2 separate regions of the Homo sapiens genome follow, and region 2 is linked to region 1. Evidence: promoter capture Hi-C in human tissues and cell types (Jung and others, 2019). All regions are on one chromosome and are shown on one strand. The core of a region is centred on a gene start or on the middle of the fragment in contact, and the rest is flanking DNA. Distances in the headings are between cores, read along the strand shown.

Evidence for each region. Contacts are between HindIII fragments. The study calls those that stand out against the background at their distance.
Region 2: a fragment that was not itself captured here is called in contact with the fragment with the promoter of MRPS28 in region 1 in 1 of the 25 tissues and cell types used here (mesendoderm cells).

What each region holds. Positions count from the first base shown.
Region 1 is chr8:80,027,052-80,032,198 of GRCh38, forward strand. MRPS28 (mitochondrial ribosomal protein S28) reads right to left here and starts at 3,208. Exons shown (of 3, transcript NM_014018.3): 1 at 2,985-3,208. The coding sequence starts at 3,197. The region is part of intron 5 of TPD52-MRPS28 (TPD52-MRPS28 readthrough); the gene reads right to left. It also overlaps a transcript of TPD52 not described here. RefSeq lists an enhancer at 2,931-3,360. The HindIII fragment of the contact is 9,025 bases long and covers 1-5,147 here.
Region 2 is chr8:80,575,209-80,580,355 of GRCh38, forward strand. No RefSeq gene overlaps it. Among named protein-coding and RNA genes, the nearest start is that of LINC02986, 38 kb to the left of the region's middle. RefSeq lists a silencer at 3,027-3,096. The HindIII fragment of the contact is 3,245 bases long and covers 1,341-4,585 here.

The DNA of each region.
Region 1 (5,147 bases), core at 1,958-4,457:
CAGTTACAAGAGATGAATCTACACGGTTTGATAAATTAAAGTTCATTATTAAGAAAACAATGGGACTTCAAAGAACTGTGTAATTGTGGAAGCATCTCTGTGAAACTATTCTCAGGAAGGCAGAAGGCTGGAGAAGAAACGGCTGGGGCCACATAAAAGCTAAAATGCACTGAATAAAGCTTACTCTGTACCAGTCAATGTACTGAGAGCACGTTAAATGTATTATTTCACATAAACTTCCCAGTAACTCCAGTTGAAGCATTATCTCCACTTTGAGATAAGACAGCAAACTTAGATAGGCTAAGTAAGTTGCCCAAAGTCACTCAGTTGAAAGATGGCAGAAACTGGAAACCTGAACTGAGCCGAAGCTTTTAACCCAAGCAGGGTCTTGAATGGCAGTAGGCCTCTGAAGCCACAGTAGAGAGATGCACCATTGTATATTTAATCTTGCAGGCAGTGTGAATGGAGGTTTAGAAGATTCTCAAGGAGAGCAATAAGTAAATAACCTCATTAAGTCTGATTATAGAGCCCAACTTTAGGAAGATAACTTGATCCACAGTGTGTGTAATGACCTGAACCAGGGAGCAACTGAAGTCAGTGGTATCAATTAAGAAGGAGTAAAGGGGTTCACGTAAACTTCAAATGCTTCAAAGCTAAGAACTTGCTGAACGGAGACTACAACACAGCCTCCTGATATCCTCCTCCCCAGGGAATTTTATTTCCATTAAACCAAGATGTCAAAGACTTGTGAATAAGAAATTGGTGAACTGTACATCACAACCAAACACATTTACCCATCATCTAGTAGAATAATGTTTTCTAAACTGTGTTAGACGGAGAACAACCACGCAGGGTGCAGAGATGCTGCTGAGCCTGAGCTGGACTGAGAAAATCTAACGGATGTGCTGGGACTGCCAGGAAACACCCCAGCCTCCTCCTGGAAAAACTGAACAGCCCAATTAGAACTGCCTTGGAAAGGAAAGGAAAGAGAAAAGGAAAGGAAAGGGAATTCTGGGGACTCTAAAACACCTTGGTTGTTTCCTTCATTAAATAAACAGTACATTTTTAGTTTCAAACACTTAACTTACTATACATGTGATGCTACAATTTTCACTCTTACCACAGTTAACTCAGCAATTGAGAATTATTTTGGGGGGTTTCCGAAGGGGCTTAGAATGTGGTATGAATGGGAGCGAAGCGTGAGTGAGAAATATTAGGTAAGAAATAGAAAAACTCCTTTCCTATACATATATTTGGAAGGGAGCACTGAACTCTATGTTTCCAACCTTACTGCACTTAACTCTTATGGCCTTACCTTAAGGATGGATCTAAAATCCATCCCTTAGGTGGCTTCAGGTCAATCATCGCTATTCTGCTAGTATTTTATGACTTCTCCATATATGGTAGAAAGAATAATGCCCCCTCCCCCTACAAAGACATCCACATCCTAATCTCTAGAATTTGTGAATATGTTACCTTCCGTGGCAAAGGAGAATTAACTTTGCAGGTGGAATTAAGATTGCTAATCAGCTGATCTTAAAATAGATTATCTAGGGAGGCCAATGTAATCACAGGGATCTCAAAAGCAGAAGACGGGCGGGGGGGGCGGGGCCGGGCGGGGTCAGCCAGGCCAGGTGGCTCACATCTGTCATCTGTAATCCCAGCACTTTGGGAGGCCAACGCAGGAGGATCACTTGAACCCAGGAGTTCAAGACCAGCCTGGGCAACATGGCAAAACCCCATCTCTACAAAAAAAAACAGAAAAAACAATTAGCCCAGAGTGGTGGTGCACACCTGCGGTCCCAGCTATGAAGCAGGAGGATCACTTGAGCCCAGGGGGTTTAGCAGTGAACTGAGATCATGCCACCACACTCCAGCGTGGGTGACAGAGCGAGACCCTGTCTCAAAAAACAACAAAACAAACAAAAAAATCCAAAAAACAAAAAAGTAGAAAACAGAGGCAGAAAAGACAGGCCAGGAAGAGATTCTCCTAGAAGCTACGGAAAAGAACACAACTTCACCAACACCTTGATTTTAGACCAGTGAGATCCCGTCTGACTTCTCACAACCCTAACAACAACACATTTCCTGTGTTTTACGCCACTAAATTTGTAGTAATTTGTTACAACAGAAAATAATAAACTAATATACCAGGCTTCTTCTAGTCCTTGGATTTCAGAAAAATTTTGACATCAGTAATTGCTACTAAAATGACCCTATAACCCAGGACACTGCCAGTCTTGTGAACTGTTTGGTACTACTCCCTAGGAAGAAAAATACAGAAATTGAGAGTTTATTTGTATATAATTCAATTTCATGTCTGCTGAGTTTAATTATTAAAAACTTAGGCTTGTAATTTTATTTCTTCCATTTCATTTATCTATAAATTTATGGTATTTTACAAAAGTACTGGCTGAGACAAACGGAGATTTTACTTTACTTTTTAAAAAAAGAAGACATTTACAAAAGAGAGGTGAAGCGCTGACAAGTTAAATCACTTGCCCAAGTTCAGAAAGTGATTCATCACCCAGTCATTAAATTAACAAATGTTTATGAAGGGCCTTCTACTCCAGACAGCAAGCTCCATGCTAGAGCTACTGTTCAGAACAAGACCCAGCAGAGCCCTGCCTCTCCGTGTGAGTCCCATTCTCCTTAGCGTCCCAGGAATCGCCCTAGATCGCCTCCCCAGCAGCGCTCCCCGCTGGTTACCTTCCCACCAGCATTCAATCCCAGGAAAACAAGCGCAGTGTGGACAGACCCGGCCCAGTACGCAAATGCCACACAAAAGGACAACGAAAGGAAGAAAAACACCAAGCACAGATTCTAGGGGCCGAGGGCTGAGCCACAACGCACCGCAACTCCGGAAAACTGGGCCCCGGACCTCAGCTCCCCTTCCTAAGCCAGGCTCCGCCCCTATTCCCGACCCCGCCCACCGCGTCGTTGGCGTAATTCCCGCGACTCCCTCTCACCCGCCCGGGCTCCACCTTCTGTAGGGGCTCCACCTTCTGTAGAAGCTCCGAGTGCCGCTCCAACGCGCTCGCGAAACCGCCTGCGCGCGTCTTAGGCTCCTTGGCATTGGAACTACCACTTTCGGATCCACTCTCAGTGCCTACACCCCGAAAGGGCCTGAAGAAGAGAAACACTCGCAGAAAATGGCTCTCGGCAGCCACAGCACGGGTCCGACACAGCGCCGCCATGACTTCTTTACCTCTGACCTTTGACCTCCCCTCCGCAAGCGCGCGGGTCACGGGGCGGAGCTATGAGAGGTCCGCCCCCCGGACGCAGAGCTCTGGAGGCCAACGAGGCGTGTCTTCCTTTCATCTGGGAGTGGCGTGGGGAAGAAGAGACTTAAGCTAAAATTGGTGGGCTAAATAGTTGGAAAGGGGCCTGGTTAAGTTTTGCGTTAGAAGTGCGTTTAACTTGCAGGAATTTCGCCTTCCTGGGCATCCGTTGGACCCCATTGTACTGTAAATTCTGCTAACGCGACGCTCGTTCTCCCGCCCTGCCGTCCCCCCTACATGGCCGCCAGCACTCGAGTTTGGGGTCTTCACTCAAATATGAGGGTCTCCTTGATTACCCTATTTAGAAGTGGAAGCCCAAATGCAGACTCTCTGGCACCTGTTTTTCTTAGTACCATGTAGCACTTTCTAATATGCCACATATTAATATTAAATATTTAATAATATTTAGTGTCTACTCCCAACTTTTTAAACTTTGAAAAGAGGAACTTTGCTGTAGGGTCCCTAGCACCAGGCACAGATTAGGGCTCACCCAACATTTGCCAAACCCTGCATCCAAGTTTGTCCTTTGCCACTTCTGCAGCCAGTCCACTCACGCCACAAAAATAGTTTTTCTGAAATGTTTTGACACCTCTAGATACCTATTATCTAACTTAGGAGTTCAGAAGTTTTGGAATGTCCCTAAGTATTGCACCGCCGTAGGCCCCCACCCTCACTCTGGATTTTCTTTCCCTTTTCTCCTGCAGTGTTAATTCCCAAAATTTACCCACCCTGTTCAAAACAGCCTAACATCATTCTTAAGTGTTTATTAATTAGTTGTCCGTCTATCTTTGACCCAGCAGTTTAATATTAATCCACAGTTAGTTTTATTTTGGGGGCACACACCTTTCCAGTTCATTTGCAAGTACTTCGAGAGAAAGAATTTTTATGATCACAGACCCTATTTTAAGAATGCCTTGACTATGGGTTTTAAGCTTTTCTGATGCTCTCTAATGGTACAGATAGTGTTAAGAACACGAAGTACACTGATCTCAGAATGGTGCACAATTGTATGAATCACATAAAATTATTACTAGCTAACTGTATGGTAGTCCTTACAAATTCATTAAATTCTCCAGGTGAGTTCTCCCTCTTGGCAGTTAAAACTGTTTATCTCCCGAGACTATTAATGGACTCTTGCCTAGAACATTATTTTCTACGGATAGTGCTACTTCCACTTTTTTTCAGGAGAAAGTGTGGTAAATTGTAAAGAGCATGGCCAGTGGTCTTCAAGAACCCTCAGTCTGACTGGGCAGGGTGGCTTACACTTGTAATCCCAGCACTTTGTGAGGTTGAGGAGGGAGGATTGCTTGAGATGAGGAGTCCGAGACCAGCTTGGGCCATAGCAAGAACCAGTCTCTACCAAAAAATAGAAAAATCAGCCTGGGGCAGTGGTGCATGCCTGTAGTCCCGGCTACTTGGGAGGCTGATGGAGGAGGATCACTTGAGCCCAGGAGTTTGAGGCTGCAGTGAGCTATGTTCCTGCCACTTCACTCCAGCATGGGTGAAAAGTGCAAAACTCAAGTATCCGTAAAAACACACCCCTGGCGTGGTGGCTCACACCTGTAATCCCAGCACTTTGGGAGGCCAAGGAGGGCAGATCACCTGAAGTCAGGAGTTCGAGATCAGCCTGGCCAACATGGTGAAACCCTGTCTCTACTAAAAATACAAAAATTAGCTGGGCGTGATGACACATGGCTGTAATCCCATCCACTCAGGAGGCTGAGGCAGGAGAATCACTTGAACCCAGGAGGTGGAGGTTGCAGTGAGCCAAGATCACACCACTGTTCTCCAGCCTGGGTGACAGAGCGAGACTCCAGCTCAAAAAAAAAAAAAAAAAAAAAAAATGAGTAAGTTTGTATCAAATGA
Region 2 (5,147 bases), core at 1,713-4,212, 550 kb after region 1:
ACAAAAAGATTTAAAACTGCAATCAGTTCTAGCAGAAGGAGGGGTGGGCCAGAAGGCATCTGTCTGTCCGCTTCTTCCCTGGCTCCCTCTCTCTGGACAGGCGCACAGGGCCATCAGGGAGAATGGCTCCGGCTGCAGGCAAACACCCCCTTTTCCCCCTTCAGATCTGCAGGAAGACAGCAGAGTAACTCCCTGCTCTCTAAAACTTCCTGGGGGCTTGGCCTGCTTACCCCGCCCCCAGTCAAGTCAACTGAAATTCAAGCTTGCTCCTGAGCCACAACCTGAAAAAAACCTTCCTTTTAGTGCTCCGCCTAAAAACATTGGCAGTACCAATACTGATTCTCACCTCGTCTCCCTATCGTGCCCTCATCCTGAACCCAGCCACGATTAGCTCCTGGCCTTGGTGACTCTGCACAGGGAAAAGCTAATGTTTAGGCCACCTCTGTTCCAAATGTTCCCATTTTGTTTCTTTCATGCTCCCTTTCCTCAATCACCCACTGCTGTGTTGTTCCCTTCGCCCAGTCCAGGAAAGGGCCACAGGACTGACTGAGACAGAAGAAAAGATGCAAAGGCAAAAGATTTTAAAGGTGGATATATTCTCATTATTCACTTACAGAGGCCAAATTCAGCAGATGACTCTGAACCCTCACTTGACTGATGTGCAGACAAACATCAAATGATGCTTAGCCTATTCCTCCTAATTTGTAGTTGCCTAAGAATTTAAGGTTATGGTCAGACCTTTGATAGAAAATAAAGAAACAAGTCAACGTTATCCAACAGGATACAACCAAATTCTAAAAAGATGGTTTATGAATGAATTCAGAATATGTCTTTTAAATATTGTTACAGTTCTAAATAATCATGTGAAGCTACATTAAAAATTTGTGCAAAGAATCAGTAATAGTATTAATGCAGGGGGAAGGCAGTATCCCATGTCTTTATTTAAAAACTTTTTTACTTACTGCTTCTTTTTTTTTTTTTTTTTTTTTTTTAAGACAAAGTCTCACTCTGTCGCCCAGGCTGGAGTGCAGTGGCATCATCTTGGCTCATTGCAATCTCCGCCTCCTGGGTTCAAGCGACTCTTGTGCCTCAGCCTCCCAGCTGGGATTACAGTCGCCCACCACCATGCCTGGCTAATTTTTTGTATTTTTAGTAGAGACGGGGTTTCACCATGTTGGCCAGGCTGGTCTACTTGCTTAATTTCTTAAAACAAATGTACTCTTATCTCTGCCATTTTGCTATATCAAAGTCAATATAATGATTATCTTTCAAAGTCTTTTTATAATATTGCTATTGCACAGTTTTCGACTCCTTGAATGAAAAAGGCTTGGATGATAACTGCTGAGGAACACTTAAAAATAATGATTCTTGAATTTACATGTCTGTCTTCTGCCAGAAAAATTGGACAAAAGTGAGAAATTCAATTAATCCATAAGTATTTTTTTTTTGCCCACAGTTATAGTCCATATTATCCTAGATGAGATTTGAGGGAGGTTCTGCTCTTGTGGAATGTGTAGTCAGGGAACAAACTAACTGCTCAGAGATGGTAGGTTTGGGGTCTTCAACCCAACCCTGTTGACTACTATTGGGCAAATCTGGGCAGGTTTTATGCCCTTTCGAAACTTCAGTTTCCTCATCTATCAAATGGAATAATAATAGTACCTGTCTTCTAAGTTTAAGAGAATTCAGTAAAATGCAAATGTCTATAAATTGCTTAGAATAGTGCCTGGAATTCAGCGAACCCTCACAAAATGCTACATATCAACTAGTTGGAAATCTAATTCTAGAAGTCATGCATGTTATGTCAAAATAAGTGAACATTTAGAGTTTTATAGATAAACTTACAGTTTACAGAAGTTTGCTTACATTTTTCATCCTTTCTTTTTGGTCAGCGACAGAGTTGAAACCAGATGGGATATCACACAATTACAAACCCACGAGTTTTCCTGTTACTTTAAGGTAGGTGCCTAATTTGGGAGTATGTGGGTAGAAGAAACCAAAAAATGTTCCTTTGGATAATACCTGAAAACAGGGGTTACCGATTTGGATTTTCAGAACAAACAGCAAAACAAAAGCTCAGGCTCTATCCACAGAAACAGTGTTTTTTAGGGCTTCCGAGGATTCTTTGACCTTTGCTTTAGGAAACATGGACAACCTTACATTTGATTGGTGAATTTTCTGCTGGTGTTTTTTTTTTTTTTTTTTTTTCCAAACCACGTTCCCTGCCTGAAAGCTAAACCTATTTATGGTGAGCGCTGTTTTTTCAATTAGGTTTATTTTCATTTTCCCATAGGCCATGTTAGCTGAGAACTTCCAAAAGTTTATTTTTTTTCTCTTTGCTTTTTATAATGGTTTTTAAAATAAAATATACAGCACTTATCTATAGATTTTCTCTGGAAATACTCATGTCTGAAATAAGCTTTTTTTCCACACCTTTAACACCACGTCATAAGAGCTATTCAAAAATGCCTTTCTGAATGTAATTGTTGTCCATTTCTGTGGCAAACTCTATGAGAGCAAGGATCGCGTCCGGTTCGCCAGCTTTGTGAAATATCTTGTGCAAGCTGACGCTTAGCAAACAGTACTTAAGAATGATGATCTGTTTGTGACTCGGCTTCTCCCAAAAATTTTCAGCTGGTTATCAGAAAACATTGTTTAAAATTCCAAGCTTAGCATTAGTAATATGTTTTCTCCACGAGGTCCCTGATTTGGGGTGAGGGGTGGACTGAAAATGAAAACCCACATCACCTTTCTAATAGTTGTGTAACGGAAAATATTCTCTGGTGAAAACACTCCAGGCGAAAGCAAGCCTTAGCTCGGAATTCCCTCCGCGGCCGGCGCCTCCCCTCCGGGGGCCTGGCTCGCAGCCCGTGGGGACGAGGGCCTGCACGTCCCCGGGGGACTGAGGGCTGCTCTGGGTGAGGATGGGAAGGCGGGTGCCGCTTCCGAGGGCTCCTCTCGCCAAGGGAGAGAGCCCTAGACCCGTTCCCGGGGCGCTGCTCTTCCCGGGCTGGGGTGGGCTGCAGCGGCGGCAGGACCTCGCCCCCTCCCGGCCGCCCGCACCCCCGCGCCTCCTCCTAGGGCCCGGTGTCCCACGGGCCTGCCGCGGTCCCCGCCCTCTCCGGCTCCCGCGACTCCCTCCCCCAGGCAGCTGGGGCAGGAATTCGGCTGGAGAATCTGGCCCGGGCACCCGGCCCTGGAGGGCTGGACTGGTTCGCCCGGGGCCGCGCCCTCATCCCCGCTCCTACCCGGCTCCCCGTCCCGCGCTCCTCCCAGCTCTGGCTCCCCCACTCCTTCCCCTCTCCCGCCGGCGCTCCCCGCCTCTGCTCCTCCCGCTCCCCCTCCGGCGCTCCTTCTCCCTGCCCCCCATCCACGCCGCCGCCCCCGGTCTTTCTTCCTGCCCCAGCTCCTCCCCTGCGCCCCTTCTCCCTGCTCCCCTTCTCCCTGCTCCCCTCCTCCTCGCCCTTCCTCCCCTGTTCTCCTTCTCCTCTGCTCCCCTCCTCCCCTCTTCCCCTCCTCCCCCGCTCCTCTTCCCGGTTTGCGGAGCTCCCACGCTGTTGCTATGGAGGCGCCCGCGGCTGTTCGCGGCCAGGCGGGAGCTGCCCTGGGGCCCCGGGGACGAAGTAGGGACTCTGCCCAAGGCTCGGGCGCCTCGCCCCACTGGGGCCCAGGAACAAAGCGCGCCCTCCCCCACCCCGGGAGTGCGCTGTGAGACCCTCAGGCGTCCCGGGCCCCGAGGCTTAAGACCACCGCGAATCTGCTCGCCCCCAACCTCTGTGGGCAGGACCCCTGGGGCCGGGGTGACAGCTGCGCTCTACCGCGCTACCTTCCTGGCCCCCCGAAGATCACTCCCGCTCGCCCCATCCCGGAGGTGTCACTGGGGCCGGGGGACGGCCAGATGGCCCCATTTAACAGGACTATCCGTTTTGTTGGGGGCCGAAGCAGCGTCCAGGCCAATTTACATAGAAAAATGGGGTTTGTGTCCCCAATTCAGTGCAGTGCCCCGACAGCTGGTGGCTCTGTCATCATGTCAGGACCCCACAGCATGATGTTTAAAGTGGCTTTATCTGTGCAGATGTGTGAGTGTGAATAGCAATTGATTGGGAACCAGTAGCTACTAGGTCTGGCTTGAAGATATTAAGCGTTCACAGAGGAAATTTTATCAGCCCGGTCACCGAATAAGAGCCTAGACGGGAAAAGGCCTGCTGAAGACTTCTGATGCTCTCCTGCAGACCTTTTAGCTTATCATTTTATTCAGAAGTCTAAAAAGCCAAATTGTTTGGGTCTGAGGAGGGCTTTGAAATCCTTAACTATTTACAGCTTGGTCGTTGCTTGTAAAAGTTGTGAGGCTGAACATAAAAACGGTTTAAGGAGGACTGCTAAGACTTAAAAAAAATGATGAAAGATCTAATCTAATTCATTTTATTGAACTACTTTGACTCAGTTGGTTTGTGTCCAGAACGATAGCCTGTAATAGGCTGAAAGTTATCATTTGTTTAGTTTGGAATCAGTAGCTTAAACATGTGTACTTAAATTGCAGCATGTTAGAACAGGGAGTAACTTTCTTATTTTATTAGTGAAGAATTTGAGGCTCAGAGAAGTTAAGTGATTTTCCCAAGATCACACAACTCTGTGAAATATGATCTAAATTGTTCAAATCCATACAGGACAAAGGAAGAGGACATTTGAAAAGACAGTAGTTTTAGAAGCCCTTGAAAATACCTCCATCAAGAAGCTCTGGATCTGCAAGGGGTGGGGGCTTTTGCATTAAAAAAAAAAGAAAAGAAAAGAAAAGCAGCAGCTACTCTTGCACCTTTCCCCCAGTACGCTGGAGCCACCAACAGGTAACTGCCTAGAAGACAAGGGATCCAGAGGAATTTTTTTCCTGCACCTTTATACATTCATCATCTTTGACTGAGACTGTATTGGAAACAATTCTAGCCACTAAAATTTTCTGGAACTGTGCTCTGGGACTAGTGACTTTGTTTCCACAGAAGCTATCATTTTGTAACAAAGATGGAAAGTATAATATATGTTTAGGATTTGTAGGAAATGGGAAATTGAAGCTGGGCTGGGACCTTCTTAGTCCCCATTTTTAGGTAGGAGGATATAAGGACTATTATGGAACCTGCATTCACATTACCAGA